2 separate regions of the Homo sapiens genome follow, and region 2 is linked to region 1. Evidence: promoter capture Hi-C in human tissues and cell types (Jung and others, 2019). All regions are on one chromosome and are shown on one strand. The core of a region is centred on a gene start or on the middle of the fragment in contact, and the rest is flanking DNA. Distances in the headings are between cores, read along the strand shown. Region 1 holds the start of DNAH10OS (dynein axonemal heavy chain 10 opposite strand). Region 2 overlaps NCOR2 (nuclear receptor corepressor 2).

Region 1 (5,582 bases), core at 16-2,515:
CTCCGTTGAGACCTGGGGTCTATGGCAGGGGAGACCTGAACCATGTTCACTCTGCTAGCTCATGGCAAGTGGGCTCCTAGGTCAGAATTAGCTCTTGCAAAAACCATCAGGTGGCTTTCTTGTAACCCCTGACGGGGCCAGGGGCATGGGAGCCACAGAGCAGCATGGACTAACTTGGTTGGAACTCTTTGATTATGCCAGAACTTCAGGTCCCTTAGACATTGGTTACTGACTGTGCAAATGAGAGCTGGAAACTGCTGTTTCCCCGGGTCCATGTTGTCTTAGAGTTCTTTTAACTGCAAGGAACAAAAGCTCTTTTGAGATGGCTTAAGGACTGGGGACTTACGGTAAAGATGCAGGGACTCTCCAGGTCTCAGTGGCAGGGGAGGTGGCAGGTGTCCGGGCCACCACTCTCTCTGGGGCCACAGGAGTGTGTTCCTCTCTTTGCACATCTGCTGGGTCCTCCTCCCCGGAGACCACTTTCTCTGTGAGGCTTCGACTTCCTGCTCCCCAGCCACTTCGGCTCACAGGGTAGCTGGGGTTGCCATGGTGCCCATTCTGACTCTGGGACCATGCATCTTTCTAGCCTGGGGGCCCAGGGTGGTCTAAGTCCGTGGGCCTTGATGCCCCAGGAATGAGGATTCCTGGGGGAGAGGCCACCGCCCCACACCCATTTCTCTGGGCCATGGGGCAGGGCCACAGGGTCTCCTGTCTGGGCTGCTCCTCCACAGAGGGAAGGTGGGCAGGACAGAAATGCTGGAGAAGGGCCTGGGCTGTCCCCAATGCGCTGGGGAGGAGGCCAGCCAGTGGCCTGTGTGTCGCTGTGTGTGCGCCTGATAGAGCCACTCCGTGGCAGGCTGTGCATGCTCCAGTTGTATCCAGTCTCTGCCTTGTGTCCCTAGGATGCTTTGTCTCAGGACTGTACCTGGAAGGTGCTGACTGGGATATAGAAAAAGGATGTCTTATCAAGAGCAAACCCAAGGTGCTGGTTGTGGACCTGCCGATCCTGAAGATCATCCCCATTGAAGCCCATCGCCTCAAGCTGCAGGTGAAGGTCCCAGCCCCTCCTCTCTGACACCAGGGCCCTTCCTCTTCTGACTGTAGTTATGGCTGAGGTGGTTTCCAACAGTCCTACTTTTTAAAACAGGGGTGCCTAAGCTTTATGGGCTGGGGAGAGTCTTGGAGCCGTGATAAAAGCTACGGATAGCTGCTTCCTGGAAAAGGCGCGGCTGTATGTGTGTGTGGATGCCGGTCCTTCCAGAGGTGTCAGGCTCAAGCTGTGATCCTGTGGTCTAGACTAACCAAGGGGAGACTCCCTCCCTTCTTGCAAAATGCTGCAGACATTGCCTGAGTCATAAAGTGGTTCCCGCTGGTGTGGACAGCAGATGTCTTCTGCTCTGCCTGGGCCAGGACCCACTTTTAACCAGGGTGTCAGTGTGAAGCCAGGTCCCCGTGAAGCTGGCGGAGGGTGGCCCTGAGCAGCCCCAGCCTTGTGCGTGTTCTCAGGTGCAGTCTTGCACAGGGGCCCCTGCCTGTCAAGACTTACACTGCACCTCTGCCTTTATCCCTCTGCACCCTCTCTCCGTGGGGGCATCTCACCTGCCTTTCCCTTGCAGAATACTTTCCGGACCCCCGTCTACACCACCTCCATGAGAAGGAACGCCATGGGAGTCGGCTTGGTTTTTGAAGCTGATCTCTTTACCACGAGGCACATTTCTCACTGGGTGCTGCAAGGAGTATGCCTCACCCTGAATTCTGATTAACCTTTGGGTGAAGAAAACTGCTTAATGAATTCGGAGCCTGGGGTTGTCAGAGTGATCGGGTCTGCTGTCATTTCTTGGGGCCTCTCAAGAGGCAGGAGGGGGACTGACACTGATTTTTCATTTGAAATCAGCCACTTAAATCTCTTTCCATACAAATTAACCTGAATGGTTTTGTTTTTAATACTACTTTTTAAAAGGAATTTATATAATCAAAAAGTAAATATTGGAGAGTATTTTAAGATGTGTGGAGTTTTCTTTTCCTTCTCAGAGAAAACACTTGATTAGGCAAAAGTGCCTGGCATACATAGCATTGGCACAAGTGAGAATCCTAATGTAATTTCCAAAGGTGTGTTTTCGATGATCCAGGTCTGTTTCAGCAGATGCTCCTTTTTGGCAAGAAGGGCTGATGATGTCGGGCACAGAGCAGAAGTGACCAGTCACCTGGAGCCACTTCTCCCCCTTCCAGAACTCTCTGGCCCTAGCTTCTTTGGCTCTGACCTGCTACGGCGACTGTGAAGTTGTTGAGCTTAGTGTTTAGTTCCTGCATGAGCTTCTACCCCCAGCCTGCCTGGGTCTGTGTGGGGTCAGGTAAGGACACAGAACCTCCAGGACCAGTGGTCACTGGGCACCCCTTCCCTCTGTGCACCATGAGGCTGGCCTGGAGCCCTGGCTGGCCACCTGGAGGTGAGGGGTGGCTTCACTCCATGAGGGAGGAGAGGGGCTAGCACGGGCAGCACAGTGGGCAGGGGCCATCAGAGGCAAAAGCAGCTTCCCACAGAAGCTCAGGAGCGCAGCACATTCTAAGGACTAGCTCTGGGCCGGGAGGAGGCCGGAGTCGCTTCTGGGACCTGTGATTGCTCTCCCTCCTGCAGTCTCCTAGCCCTCCTTCAGGTGTTTGTTTAATAAAAGACACAAAACAGAAGGAAGGCAGGTTTAGAAAATAAAGTTTGTTGGGATCTTAAACATTTTGGATAAAACTAACAAAAAAATATGAACACACATTCAGGTTGTGGTGCTATGAGGAGTAGCGTCATCTTATTTAGTTCCTTGAGATACACGCACGGCTGCTCGGTGATCGGTGCCGCCCTGGGAAAGGTTGGTCAGGAGGTGACAGGGGTCTCCAGGAGGAGCTCGGGAGGTGACAAGGGTCTCCAGGAGGGAGCAGGGGCTGCTCGGCCAGGCTGCCCTGGAGCTTGAGGATAAGGTCAAGGTTGGTATGTGTTGCTCCGACTTGAGAATGAATTAGGTGTGTGACTGTGTGGCATCGTGAACATCAGTAGTGACGCAGCCGTGGCCTGGGCTTTGCCTGCAGCGCACTTAGGTTACACGGAGCGGGATCAGAAGCAAGCGATTCGGCACACAGGCGTTTGGCCACAGCAATTAGGAAATACATATTCTGCGGCAGGGACACGATCATATTTTGGTGTGAAGAAGAGGGCAAGAGAAGCAGAAGGAGAATGGGTCGGTAGGTGTGAAAAGTGTTTGGCATGCATGGGATTAAACAGAAAAGGTGTGGCTGAGATTTCCCAGTGGTGCTCACAGTGCATGGACAGCGCGGGGTGGGGCACGGCGGGCTTCACACAGTTCTGTCCGTCCCTGAGTGCTTCCTCACCACCTTGCCTCCGTTCACCTGGTCGACCGCCAGGGTCTTCACCTCGGGCTGGGCCTGCGGCGGGGTGGCGTGGTGGATCCGATGTGCCACCCCGACGTGGGCCTTGTGCGGCTTTTCGCGGGCCGGGCTGTGCTGCTCGCCGCTTCGGTCGGAGGCGATGGGGGGGATGACGAGGGGCCTCTCTTTGATGAGGTGGACCTCGGCGGACTCCCTAGCCAGCAGAAATGGGGTGGGGTCGGGCATAGCATCCACTGGTTCCCGCAAAAGGAGTTTCCTGCTCTCTGCCCCGAATCTGTAGACCTCTTCAAATTCCGGGTGCAAGGGGGCTGAGAGGCTCTTTTTCATGCGGCGGCGAGGCGTTTCGGGTAGCTTGTCTTTGGGGGGCGCTGGCTTGTAGCTGGCCAGCACGGGGCTCCCTGACGGGCTGGCATCTGAGGTCCCGCTGGAGCTCATGAGCTTCTTCTTGGCGGCGTGCAGCTGGGAGGTCAGGTAGGCGATGGTGCTGGCCCGCTGCTCCAGCTCGCTAGACAGCAGGGTCAGCTTGTGACTCTTGGCCTTCAGCTCCTCCAGGTACTTCTTCTCTCGCTCCTTGATGGTGTTCTCCAGCACTGTGATCATCGCGTTTTTCTGCTCCAGTTCTTTCAACAACTCAGCATTTTCGTTCTCTTTCACTTTCAGTTGGGCTTCCAGCTCTTCACATCTTTTCTTTAATTCACTGCTTTTAGAAGTCCCGTCTCCTACAAGAATAAGCCGAGGAAGCAGGTGAAGAACTCATTAGACTGAGGCCGAGTGGTGAGGCCTATGGGGCAGGCGGACCTGTCTGGTGGGGGCCCTGTCTAGGCTGTGGGGGCCATGCAGAAGGCAGGGCTGTGGGGGCTCTGGAAAGACCCCTCCCCTCCCCGAGGTGGGGAGATCGGGGCATCTCAGAGGCCCTTTCCGGCTCTTAGTTCTCTGGCCTACTGCATAAAAGAATGTCTCTGAACCTTAAAGATGCTGAACTTAAAACAGGCAATTGCAGAGTATCAGACCTCAGCAAACACTTAGGATTCAACTGGCCGCAAATCCCTCTGTCTGCTCAGATGGCATTTATGGAATGCCTGCTACATTCAAAGTACTGTTTTGAAACTCAAATGTAAAAAGAATTATCCATGTCTATTGAATTAAAATTCTGATGTTTAGAGGAGAAGAGGTGTGGGGCTGTCACCTTTGCTCTGCCGCTGGCCGCCTCTCTCACCCCCCTACCCCCGTCTCTCTCACACACACACACACACAGACTCTTTCCCACTTCCTGCTCAGAGAGTGAGCTGTCTCGCCTCTGTGGCTCTTACCCTTGGTCCCTCCCTGCCCCTGCCCTAACACTTCGGGCCTCTGCCTCCTTTTGCTGTCCCTGGGTGCCTGCCCTCACCCAGTCCTTCAGCAAACACCAGCCACCTCCTTCTCCTGCTCTTCTGGTGACCTGCAGTCCCTGGTCACCTCACATAGCACCCTTGGCTCTAAACCCTGGGTCACCATCCTACTCCTCCTAACGCTGGCTGGCTGGCCATCCTCCTTGCCTGGCCCCTGGGAAGTTCTTTCTAGACTCTTCCTTGCTGGTCTGGAATTCAACTTGAGCATCAGCTCCCGATTCAGTGTCTCCTGAGCACCACTTCTCCAAGTGAGTGTCCGTCAGACACACCCTCAAGTCCAGATAGCTGCTCTGCTTCCCACATCTTGACTCTCCCAGGGAAACTGGATGCAGTCGCCATCCCTGGCCTCCCCTCCCTGACTGTGCCTTTCTGCTGGCTGCTCAGTGCTGCCCCCTCCCTGCTCCTCCAGCCGGCCTTGGTCCCACCTCCTCTCTGGTCTTCGTTTCAGCCCATCCTGTATTTAGGAAGCTTGGTCACCCCCTAAATATTCTTGTCCTCTGTTCAAAATGGTTCCTCACTGCCTAATAAAACCCAAACTGCCAGATGCCTTCCAGTTCCTCAATCTGTCCTGAATGTTATCTGCTCCCACATAAATCAAAGCTTCCATCACTCTCCCCAAGCCACCACCTCTTGTTCTGTCTCTATTGTACCCTCTGTCCTTGCCCTAACTCCAGACCTGCACGCCCAGTTTCCCTGTACCAACTCCACCACCCAGGGCCTGCCTAGGCACTGGACGCCACTGGACGTCTTTCCCGGGCTTCTGTCTGTCTTGCTTTGAATTTTCCCACCTGCCTGAGCTAG
Region 2 (4,957 bases), core at 327-2,826, 440 kb after region 1:
TGGATTTATCTGCAGGCTGGGCTTATGGAACCAGGAGGTGACTTGCACCTTCTGCCAGGGAGAAGCCAGGGCGTTCAAAGGCAGAGAGGGAGGGACAACAGGAACAACAAGAAGGACCCCAGACGGGGCAGGAGGAAGGAGGGTTGAATTCACCAAGGACTTGGGCTCCGCCGGGCTGCTTGTTTCTCCTTCAGAGAGTCAGAAAGGAGAGTCAGGGACACTCAGCAGAGAAGGGCTGAGGTCCTCCAGGGGCCTTCGGTCACGCCACAGGGGGAGCAGTCTAGACCCCCAGCTTCCCCTTTGACAGGGAAAAAGAGGCACAGGGTGGGGGTCGAAGGTGGATGCACTCGTGACCGAGAGTGCGGGGCCAGGTGTCGGCAGCCCGTGTTCAGTTCCCGGGTCTATACACACTGATAACAAAGTTGAGCCGTGTGTTATCCGGAGCCCTGGACAACACACAGCTCATGTGGTCACAGTCCTGCATTTGAGGGGACTCGGGGGGACCCACCAGCACCATGCACACGATGGCTTTACGCCCTCTCTTCAGCAGCACTCACCTGGTGGGGCATTTGTCTAGTCTACAGCTGGTGCAAACAACACACTCCGTGGTACCTGGGGCGCCTGGGCCCAGGCCTTTAAGTGCCTGAGCCTCGGTTTCCCCATAGAGAAAACGGGGACACCAAAGAAGGGGACTGAATTATTTATCACTCAAATAGGGACACTTGGGAATAAAAGGAGACACTGAAAATAACTATATAACTTGTACAATATTTACCGACTGACAGATAGGTTCTATTTATGCTGGTTACCTTGTAAAAGAGTTCTGGTCAAAAAACAATTTTCGGGCCTGACGTGGTGACTCACACCTGTAATTCCAGCACTTTGGGAGGCCAAGGTGGGCAGATCACCTGAGGTCAGGAGTTTGAGACCAGCCTGACCAACATGGCGAAACCCCATCTCTGCTAAAAATACAAAAATTAGCCGGGTGTGGCGGCGGGCACCTCTAATCCCAGCTACTCAGGAGGCTGAGGCAGGAGAATTGCTTGAACCCGAGAGGCAGAGGTTACACTGGGCCGTGATCACGTCACTGCACTCCAGCCTGGGCGACAGAGCAAGACTCCGTCTGAAAAAAAAAAAAACAAAAAAAAACTTTTCCAAAGTAAATTTTTTTCTAAACTGTGACATCGGATGGGGTGAAAGACAGCAGGCACCCACAGGGCTGGCCTGGACGTCTGGTCACCCAAGCATAAGACTGGACTCATGGGCATCAGAAGAGCTGAGCGAGGCTTGGGGCTCCCAGAGAAGCTGATTATTCTCAGTATTGTTATGGCCTTCATCCTTGTGCCCATTACTGGTGAGTTTCTGGCAAGTCAGGCCCGCACCTTCCAGGGAGTCGAGGCCCCTTCTAAGGAGGACCCAGATGACTCAGGGGAGAGGAGGCTGCCGGGATCAGTTCCCGCTATGCCCTCCCTCAGAGCTCGGACCCACAGCTGCCAGCCACCTCCAAGCCGCGCCAGCCCTCACCTTCAGCCTCCTCCACCATCTCCTCCTCATTTCCGCTCACGCCCGACGCCTCCATCTCCTCATCCTCCACCACGGGCGGGAATGCAGCCTCCTCGCTGGCCGCCGCCGGCGCTTTCTTCTTCTTCCTCCGCGCGTTCCTCTCCTTCTCCTGGGGCACAGGGAAGCAGCAGATCAGGACTGGGGCCTGGGCTGTCAGCTCGGGGACTCCCCATGCCTGGGGCCTCGCCGCAGGTGCAAAGGGCAGTGATCCCGGCCATGTAGCAATGAGGGTGACCGTCCCCCTCACACCCCACCTCGGCAGCCAAGCGTGCCAGGGTTTATTTTTACCGGGGGCTTTATTCTTCCATTGAGCCCCAGATACACTCTGGGTACAGGCTGGCCCCTCAGCCACCCTGACATCCTTCCTGAGCACGAGAGAACCTGCCTGACATTGCCCAGGAGTCTCCTAGTCAGAGCGAGTGACCACGCCTCCTGGGGACACCCTGTCAGCTTCATCGGCACACGTGGAGTGAATGAACACAGGAAGCTTTTCCTTGCTATGCAAGTCTCACCTGTCCCTGGGGGAACAGGCCAGCCTGGGAAGCTCGCGTTTCATTCCCTGAACCTTTACAGAACACCTACTGTGTGCCCAGCTCTGCATACCAGGGCTGTGGGGACACAAGGCACGGGGTAGACAAGGTCCTGCCCTTGGAGGCTGCCCTGCCGCTGGGGAGACTGGCAACGTGCTCCTCACACAGAAGCAGCACTCAGAGGATCAGAGGGTCGCGTGGGTGAAACAGGATGGGACAAGGAGCACAAGGCAGGGGCTCCTCTGGACAGAACAGTCTGGAAGAGCTTCTGCAAGGAAGTGACATTTGAGCCAAGATTTGACGGCGGAGGGAATGGGCCAGGCCAGGCTCTGGACGAGAGTGGCAGGTGCGGGGAGTCACAGGTGCAAAGGCCCCAGTGTGGGGAACATGCCGGGTGTGTCCAGGAATGGAAAGAAGCCCTCATCGTCGGGCCTCCACTTTCCCCGCACCGCACCCTGCTCCTGGGAACCCCAGCTCCTCACACACAGAGCCCACTCTTCTTCCCCCAGCTTAGGCACCATCATCAAACCACTCGTCTTGGTAGCTCACTGGGGTGGGTGTCTCTTTGTCCCCACGCTGAGCCAGGCAGAGGCTCAGAAAGCGTTTGTTGACTGACTTGCTGAGCAACTGTGAAAGGCCAGCCTTCGTGGGCTTGAACGCATAGACAGCAGAGAGCAGGGGCATCGTGGAGGCAGCATCTCGAAGTGACTGGGGACTCCCAGGGGGACTGGAAAGACACTGGGGGGTGCCCACCACAGCCTGGTGTGACGGGGGGGCGGCAGCCTGATCCCTCTGGGGTTGCTGAGAAAGAGGTGGGCCCTCCGCCACACCTGGAGGTGCCCGCAGCTCTCAGCCAAGAGCCCTGTACTGGGTTGAATGGTGTCCCTCAAAGTTCACATCAACCCGGAACCTCAGACCTTATTTAGAAACGGGATCCTGCATATGTCATTAGTTAAGATGATGCCACACTGGAGTGGGGTGGGCCCTAAATCCAACAGGACTGACAGCCTTGGAAGAAAAGGGAAACACGGATTCAGGGACACGAAGGCCCTGTGGCAGTGGAGGCACATGTGGAGAGATGCAGCTACAAGCCAAAGAATGTCACGAACTGCCAGCAGTCGCTGGAAGACGGAAGAGGCTCCCCTGCAGCCTTGAATGTGAGCACAGCCCTGTGGACGCTTTGGTTCCAGACGTCTAGCCTCCAGAATTGGAAGAGAATACATCTCTGTTGTTTGAAGCCACCGGTCTGTGGTACTTCCTTGCGGCAGCCAGGGGGAATCACACATCCCTCTGCGCTGGTGCACCCGGATTCCAAGAAAAAGCTGCTGACGTCCAGACCACACAGCCTGCTCTCGGGCAAATGCCAGGTGGGCCCCGCCCACCCCAGCCCTTCACCGTGGCCAGGCTGGAGCTGGGCCTCATGGAGGGGAGGAGAGGGGGTCTCGGGCTCCAAGCCCCAGCCACAGGCAGGGAGTGGGATCACTTCCTGTCCTGCCTTCTTCCTGAGCAAACAGGGTTCCTCTGAGCACAGCCCCTTGGAACGCAGGGAGGAAAAGGGAAACGACTGCTCGTCCGTTAGTCACAGTTTCCGACACCAACAGTCGGCCAGAGGGCCACAGCCCTGCCCCTGCCAGTGCCCACAGGGCCCACAGGGATGCCCAGCTCTGCAACCCCGCACACGTCCTGGGCCCAGTCCCAGCCCTGCCCCGAATCCTGAGCCTCTCCCAGGAGAGTTCGAGCCTGTGGCGGCCTGAGAAAGTGGTGGCATGTGGGTTCTGCGGCTGCGGCCGAGGGCTCCCCCTGCTTCCCGAATCTATTTTTGGCAGACAGAGGCTCAGGAAAGACTCAGGGCTGGGTGCCCTGAGCTGCCCGGGCGGTGGCTGGGACATGGGAGATGCTCAGAGTCTCGCAGGGAACAGGGGTCTCCTGTCGGCCTGGTGGTGGCGCCCAGCATCCTGGAGTGCAAGGTGTCTCTGCGGGGGGCGGCGTGGGGTCTCTGAGGCAGTGGACGGGGATGGTGCCAACACCCTGAATCCCCACAAAGCTGGGTCTCAGAGAGAGTCCCAGGAGTTACAGTTAATCCTTACACACATGGTCCGGCACTGTGGGATCAGGAGGTGTGTGTAGAATAGGAGATGCTAGTGATGGCATTAATCATTATGCCTGACGTTTATTAAGCACCTACTATGCGCCAAGCGGTTTCTGGTATTAATTTACTGGACCTGCACAGCTGCTCTGCAAATCAGCGCATGCCACCCCCTGCTTCAAACTCTCCAACACCTGGATACAATCCCCAAGTCCTCCCCCTATCCATATGGCCCTGTGTGATCCAGCCCTGGACCCTGCCTGCCTCTCCAAGCTGCTCTCCCCTCTCCCCTCCTCAGAGACTGTGCTACAAACACACTGCCCTCCCTGCTCGCTGCCCCAGCCACAGGGCCTCTACACTGGCTGTTCCCCTGCCTGGACACCCTTCCCCTAGATATCTGCATAACTCACTTCCTCACCTCCTTCGGGCCTTAGCTCAGACATCAGAGAGGTCTTCCCTGATCACTCCATCATTAGCTCATCCCTCCCACCCCCACCATCAATCACTTTCTACTACATTCTTCTCATAGCATCTTCAGACTCCATTCTGAAATTGAGTGTGTGAACCTGTCTCTCGCACCAGCTCCTCAAGGGCTGGGATCTTTGTTCTCTGCTGTATTCCCACCATACCTGGAACAGTGTCTAGCACAGAACAGACGCTCTGTAACTATGTCTTTAGATGAATGAACCTGATAGACAGTGACAATGGCTCAGAGAGGCAAAGACACTTGCCCAAGACCACACAGCTCATGAGTTGAGGAGCTCAGATTTGAATGCAG

Evidence for each region. Contacts are between HindIII fragments. The study calls those that stand out against the background at their distance.
Region 2: a fragment that was not itself captured here is called in contact with the fragment with the promoter of DNAH10OS in region 1 in 2 of the 25 tissues and cell types used here (heart right ventricle and spleen).

What each region holds. Positions count from the first base shown.
Region 1 is chr12:123,933,719-123,939,300 of GRCh38, forward strand. It overlaps DNAH10OS (dynein axonemal heavy chain 10 opposite strand), which reads right to left and starts at 1,266. Exons shown (of 2, transcript NR_187476.1): 1 at 347-1,266. DNAH10 (dynein axonemal heavy chain 10) reads left to right here. Exons shown (of 79, transcript NM_001372106.1): 78 at 903-1,048; 79 at 1,617-1,996. The coding sequence ends at 1,763. CCDC92 (coiled-coil domain containing 92) reads right to left here. Exons shown (of 5, transcript NM_025140.3): 5 at 1,908-4,112. The coding sequence ends at 3,340. RefSeq lists enhancers at 4,331-4,831, 4,832-5,332. The HindIII fragment of the contact is 2,982 bases long and covers 222-3,203 here.
Region 2 is chr12:124,376,713-124,381,669 of GRCh38, forward strand. It overlaps NCOR2 (nuclear receptor corepressor 2), which reads right to left. Exons shown (of 49, transcript NM_006312.6): 20 at 1,525-1,672. Among named protein-coding and RNA genes, the nearest start is that of MIR6880, 42 kb to the left of the region's middle. RefSeq lists an enhancer at 4,878-4,957. The HindIII fragment of the contact is 9,661 bases long and covers 1-4,957 here.